Regions from separate parts of the Homo sapiens genome. Here region 2 is linked to region 1. The links are contacts of gene promoters, found by promoter capture Hi-C in blood cells and fetal thymus (Javierre and others, 2016). All regions are on one chromosome and are shown on one strand. The core of a region is centred on a gene start or on the middle of the fragment in contact, and the rest is flanking DNA. Distances in the headings are between cores, read along the strand shown.

Region 1 (2,953 bases), core at 377-2,876:
GGGTCCAGCTTCAGCTCCCACAGGGCCTCCTGCAGGGCGCACTCGCAGTGCAGGGGGTTGTGGGACAGGCGTATCTTGGCGCTGAGTTTGCCCAGGGCGTCCTTGGGGATCCTCTGGATGCGGTTGTAAGACAGGTCCAGCAGCCGCAGGCCCCCGGCCAGGCCCGCGAAGGTGGCGGAGCCGATGGCCTCGATGGCGTTGTGAGACAGATCCAGCTCCCTGAGCCGGTGCAGGTGCTGGAAGGCCCCGTCCGGGAGGTGGGAGATCTTGTTGGCATCGAGCTTCAGGAGCACGGTGTTGGCCGGGATGTCCTCGGGGACCTCCTGAAGGCCCCGCAAGCTGCAGAAGACAGCCACAGCCCCTGCGTGGTCAGGGCACCGGCAGGGCTGTGGGCAGGCGGCGCCCAGGTGCAGGCAGAAGAGGAGGAAGAGACAAGACTCCCGGGTGGAGACCAGCAGGAGCGAGGGGCGAGGTGGGCGCACGGTGCCCATCCTGACCTGACCTGGGGACGGGGACACGCGAGCCTCTGCTAGGGCCTGGGGATGGAGCTGGTTTCCGCAGGCAAGGCCTTATCCAACCAGACATGAAACCGCCATCCTGCCCCGCTGGGAGAAGCAGTGCAGTCCACTCTGGCAGCTCTGAAAGGGAAGACGCAGGAGGGAGCGGAGAGGGAGGGAGGGTGGTCAGCACTGCCGGCTGCGGTCACCTGGGAAACGCGTCCACTGGTGGGGAGGGTGTTGAGGGCCCACTGAAGGGTCTGGGGTGGGGAGCACGCCTCCTTAAACAGCTCTGCCTGTAACTTACTTCTGGAGACTCCCAATGCGCCCGGGAGGAGCGTCCCACAAGTGCAGGGAGCTGGCACTGCCAGGGGGCTCCGCATGGCCCAGTGGGTGGTCACTGCGGCCACCCCTGGCCACCTACAGCACCGCTGGGGACCAAAGGCCGGGCGGCGGAGTGGCGGCGGCTTGGACCACCCAGCCCCTCCCTCCTCAGGGTGGACGCCAGGAGGACGGTGACGGCTGCAGCTTCTCCCGAACCTGGAGCGCGGGTCAAGCTGGGCACGTGGCCGGGCACCAGCGGGCGCTCGCGCGCCAGGGGCTACTCCAGCAGCCAACGCCTGGCTGACTCCGACAACCCCTAAAAACTGTCATAACCCAGCAAGCCCTTCCCTGCCAGCCCTAAAGGAGCCGCGGCTCGCACCGGGCACAGAACCGCGCCTTTTCTTTCAACTGCCTGAAGAAGGAAACCGAGAAAACAGAGAAGCCAAGCCCTGTGCGCGCGGCCCGCGCTGGGCGTGGACGGCGGGGCCGCGCGCGGAGCCGGCCGGGAGAGGCTCGGACCCCCAGGACCTCCAGCCTTTAGACCCTCCGGCCCTAGGACCCCCGGAACCTGGGACCCCCGAGACCCCAGCACTCGCGGCGGGGGGATGGTCATGGGGTGGGTGGGAATCCACGCTCCCAGGGCTGGGCGGGGGCTTTACCTGCGCGGCGGCGGCCGGAGGCTGCTCTGCGCGCCGCTCCCGGGCCTCTCGGAGCCCGCCAGACCCAGCTCCACGCCTGGCGCGGCGGCCACCCCGCTGCCCCTGCGACCGCGCCCGCGACCACTAGCTGGGGAGGCCGCGACTCCGGCCTGCGCGGGCGAGGGGCGGGGTGGGGCGGGGCCTGGAGGGGGCGGGGCGAAAGGCGGAGACAGGCTGTGTCGATTCCCCGCGGGGGCGGGGAAGGGGCGGGGCATGTAAGGAGACCGGAACGGGATTTGTGGTTAGGCGGGGGCGGGGCTTGAGGGCGGGTTCTGCGGCAGGGCGGGGCCTGGAAGAGATGGGGGAGGGGCATGGGAGGGGCATGGGAGGGGCCGGTGGTGCGGCTTTAGATGGAGCTGGTACTAAGACCCAGGTCGCAGGGGCTGTGGGCGGGTTGTGGGAGTAATTGTGGCATGCTGGGGGCGTGGTTGTGGGGCTGAGGACGAGGTGGTGGGGGCTGAGGGCGTGGTTATGGGTGGGGGCGGGGTCTGCGCGCCGGGAGGGGCTGTGGGTCCAGCCCCTGCCCCTCACTCTGGGCAAATCCCCTCTTCCCTCTGGCATCAGGACTTCTGGGGCTTGAAGACCCTGGGTCTGCGGGAAGCCCCTGCTGAGCGTCCCTCGCCTACCCCGTGGCCAGTGGGTGAGTAGGGCTAGATCTCCGCCCATCTAGGTCCCCTTCTGCTCCAGCTCCAGCGTCTGACATCCCAAGGAAGGAACGCAGGGTGGGGGCATTTGAGCCGGACCTGAGCCATCCTCATGGTTTTCAAAAAGTAGCCTTATTGTGGTGTAATTGACAGACGGTAAGCCACATATTTCAATTTGGTACGTTTTAACACTCGGATACTCCTGTGAAACCATCACCACAATCAGCATAGTGAACACCCCGGGTTCCCTCTTGGTCATCTCTCCCTGCCCTCCCTCATCCCCAGGCAAGCACTGATCTGCATTCTGTCACTACTGATTACTTTGCATTTCCTATGATTTGCACAAATGGAATCATATAATATGTACTTTTTGTGTAGCTTCTTTCACTCAGCACAATTATTTTTGAGATTTGCCTGCGTCATTTGGTTTGTCAATGCGTATTTCTTTTACAGCTGCATGGTACTCCAGTGTATGAATGTACCACAGTTTGTGTCCATTCACCTGCTGGTGGGCATTTGGGTTGTTTCTGGTGTTGGCTCTTACAGATAAAGCTGATCCGAACATTGTGCACAAGTCTTTGGATGAATGCTTTTCTTTCTCTTGAATAGATGTCTAGGAGTGGAGTGGCTGGATGCCACGGTAGCCATATGTGAAACTTTTTAAGAAACTGCCAAAGCGATTGTATGGTTTTACATTCCACATCCTCCCCAGCACTTGGTATGGTTTGTCTTTTTAATTTCAAATACTCTAATAGGTGTGTGGTGATAGATGGAACTGTGGTTTTAATTT
Region 2 (2,870 bases), core at 356-2,855, 340 kb before region 1:
TCCCACCCACCCCTGAAATGTTTAATGCACTTGGCCCTTGGGGCCAGCACTTGCCTTTGGCCTGCCTTGCTGGCCCCTCCTTGCCACTCTGCCTTCTCTCACTGCTGGGTGTCAGCACACCCTTGTGACAGCACTTAGGTCTCTTCAGGACCTCTGTTTCCTGGATCAGGGCTTCTCAGCAGGTGTTAGTGGTATTTTGAGTGAAATAATTTTTCCTTGGGTAGGCCTTGTTCTACCCAAGGTTGTGGGTTCATTAAACGGTTAATCGGTACATTAGTCCGTTCTTATACTGCCATAAAGATACTACCTGAGACTGGGTAATTATAAAGGAAAGAGGTTTAGTTGACTCACAGTTCTGCATAACTGACGAGGCCTCAGGAAACTTATAGTCATGGCAGAAAGGGAAACAGACCTCTTCTCAAGGCGGTAGGAGAGAGAAGAGCAAGCCAAGGAAGAACTTGCCACACACTTATAGAACCATCATGTCTCCTGAGAACTCGCTATCACGAGAACAGCATGAGGGAAACTGCCCCCATGATCCAGTCACCTCCTACCAGGTTCCTCGCTCAACACTTTGGGGATTACAAGTCAAGGTGAGATTCGGGTAGGGACACAAAGCCAAACCATGTCATTTCTCCCCCTACCCCTCCCAAATCTCATGTTCCTTTCAAAACCATTCCATTTCAAAACAAATCATGCCTTCCCAGCAAGGCCCCCAAAGTCTTAACTCATTTCGTCATTAACTCAAAAGTCCAAGTCCAAAGTCTCATCTCTGACAAGGTAAGTCCCCTCTGCCTAGCAGCCTGTAAAATCAAAAGCAAGTTAGTTACTTTCAAGATACAATGGAAATACAGGCATTGGATAAATACTCCCATTACCAATGGAAGAAATTGGCCAAAACAAAGGGCTACAGGCCCCCATGCAAGTCCGAAATCCGGCTGGGCAGTCATTAAATCTTAAAGCTCAAAATGGTCTCCTTTGTGACCCCGTGTCTCACATCCAGGGCACACTGATACAGGGAGTGGCTTTCATGGTCTTGGGCAGCTCTGCCCCTGTGGCTTTGTAGGGTACAGCCCTCCCACACCCACCCCCTTCAGCTACTTTCATGGTGGGCATTGAGTGTCTTTGGCTTTTCTAGGTGCACAGTGCAAAGCTCTTGGTGGATCTACCGTTCTGGGGTCTGGAGGATGGTTGTTCTCTTCTCACAGCTCCACTAGGCAGTGCCCCAGTGGGGACTCTGGGAGCTCCAACCCCACATTTCCCTTCTGCAATGCCCTAGCAGATGTTCTCCATGAGGGCCCTGCCCCTGCAGCAGATTTCTGTCTGGACATCCAGGCGTTTCCCTACATCCTCTGAAATGTAGGTGAAGGTTCCCAAACGTCAGTTATTGAATTCTTTGCACCCACAGGCCCAACACCACGTGGAAGCTGCCAAGGCTTGGGGTTTGTACTCTCTGAAGCAACAGCCTGAGCTGTACCTTGGCCCTTTTTAGCCATGGCTGGAGCTGGAACAGCTGGGACACAGGGCACCAAGTACCAAGGCTGCACAGAGTAGCAGCGGGGCTGGGCCTGGCCCACAAAACCATTTTTCCCTCCTAGGCCTCCCTGCTTGTGATGGGAGGGGCTGCTGCCAAGATCTCTGACATGCTCTGGAGACATTTACCCCATTGTCTTGGCGATTAATATTTGGCTCCTTGTTACTTATTTGAATTTCTCTCCAGAAAATGGGTTTTTCTTTTTTATTGCACCGTCATGCTGCGAAGTTTTCAAACTTTTATTCCCTGCTTTCTTTTAAACACGAGTTCCAATTTCAGATCATCTCTCTCAAGTTCAAAGTTCCACAGATCTCTAGGGCAGGGGCAAAATCTCACCATTCTCTTTGTTGAAACATAGCAAGGGTGACCATTGCTCCAGTTCCCAAGAAGTTCCTCTTCTCTTTTTCAGACCACCTCAGCCTGGGCTTCATTGTCCATGTCACTATCAGCATTTTGGTCAAAAGCATTCAGCAAGTCTCTAGGAAGTTCCAGACTTTCCCACATCTTCCTTCTTCTAAGCCCTTCAAACTGTTCCAACCTCTGCCTACTACCCAGTTCTGAAGTTGCTTCCACATTTTCAGGTTATCTTTATAGCAGTACCCCTGGTACCAATTTACTGTATTCATCTGTTTTCACACTCCTATAAGAACTTCCCTGAGACTGGATAATTTATAAAGGAAAGAGGTTTAATTGACTCACAGTTCCACATGGCTAGGGAGGCCTCAGGAAACTTATCATGACAGAAGCCGAAGGGGAAGCAAGCACCTTCTTCACAAGGTGGCAAGAAAGAAGAGTGAAGGAGGAACTTTCGAACACTTATAAAACCACCAGATCTCATGAGAACTCACTGTCATGAGAACAGCATGGAGGAAATTGCCCCCATGATCCAGTCACCTTCCACTAGGTTCCTCCCTCAACACCTGGAGATTACAATTCAAGATGAAATTTGTGTGGGGACACAAAGCCAAACCATATCAATGGACATTTGGGTTGTTTCCAGTTTGGGGCTATTACGAATTTAGCTACTATGAACATTCACACAAAAGTCTATGGCAACATAAGACCCAGTAGAATTGCTGGGTCTTAGAGTCAATATATATGTAATTTTAGTGGAAATGGTCAAACTTCTTTCCCAAAGGGTAACCAAACCATTTTGCATTCCCATCAGTGGTGCATGAGAGATCTACTTGCTAAACTTGCCAGCACTTTAAGTCTTTAATTTTGGCCATTCTTTTGTGACTAAAGATACTGATAATGCTGAAGCTATTGAGCTGTATCTTATTGTGGTTTTAATTTGCATTACCCTTATGATTCACAATGTTGAGCATTTTCTCAT

Evidence for each region. Contacts are between HindIII fragments. The CHiCAGO score rates a contact against its expected background, and 5 or more counts as called.
Region 2: a fragment that was not itself captured here is called in contact with the fragment with the promoter of LRRC3 in region 1 in 1 of 17 cell types (M1 macrophages); the score reaches 7.4 in M1 macrophages.

The regions. Positions count from the first base shown.
Region 1 is chr21:44,454,183-44,457,135 of GRCh38, reverse strand. LRRC3 (leucine rich repeat containing 3) reads right to left here and starts at 1,626. Exons shown (of 2, transcript NM_030891.6): 1 at 1,481-1,626; 2 at 1-638. The coding sequence starts at 491. It overlaps LRRC3-DT (LRRC3 divergent transcript), which reads left to right and starts at 1,852. Exons shown (of 4, transcript NR_047476.1): 1 at 1,852-1,892; 2 at 2,084-2,159. RefSeq lists silencers at 1,268-1,697, 1,786-1,965 and an enhancer at 2,129-2,629. The HindIII fragment of the contact is 8,140 bases long and covers 1-2,953 here.
Region 2 is chr21:44,790,075-44,792,944 of GRCh38, reverse strand. The region is part of intron 1 of UBE2G2 (ubiquitin conjugating enzyme E2 G2); the gene reads left to right. Among named protein-coding and RNA genes, the nearest start is that of UBE2G2, 10 kb to the left of the region's middle. The HindIII fragment of the contact is 3,844 bases long and covers 1-2,870 here.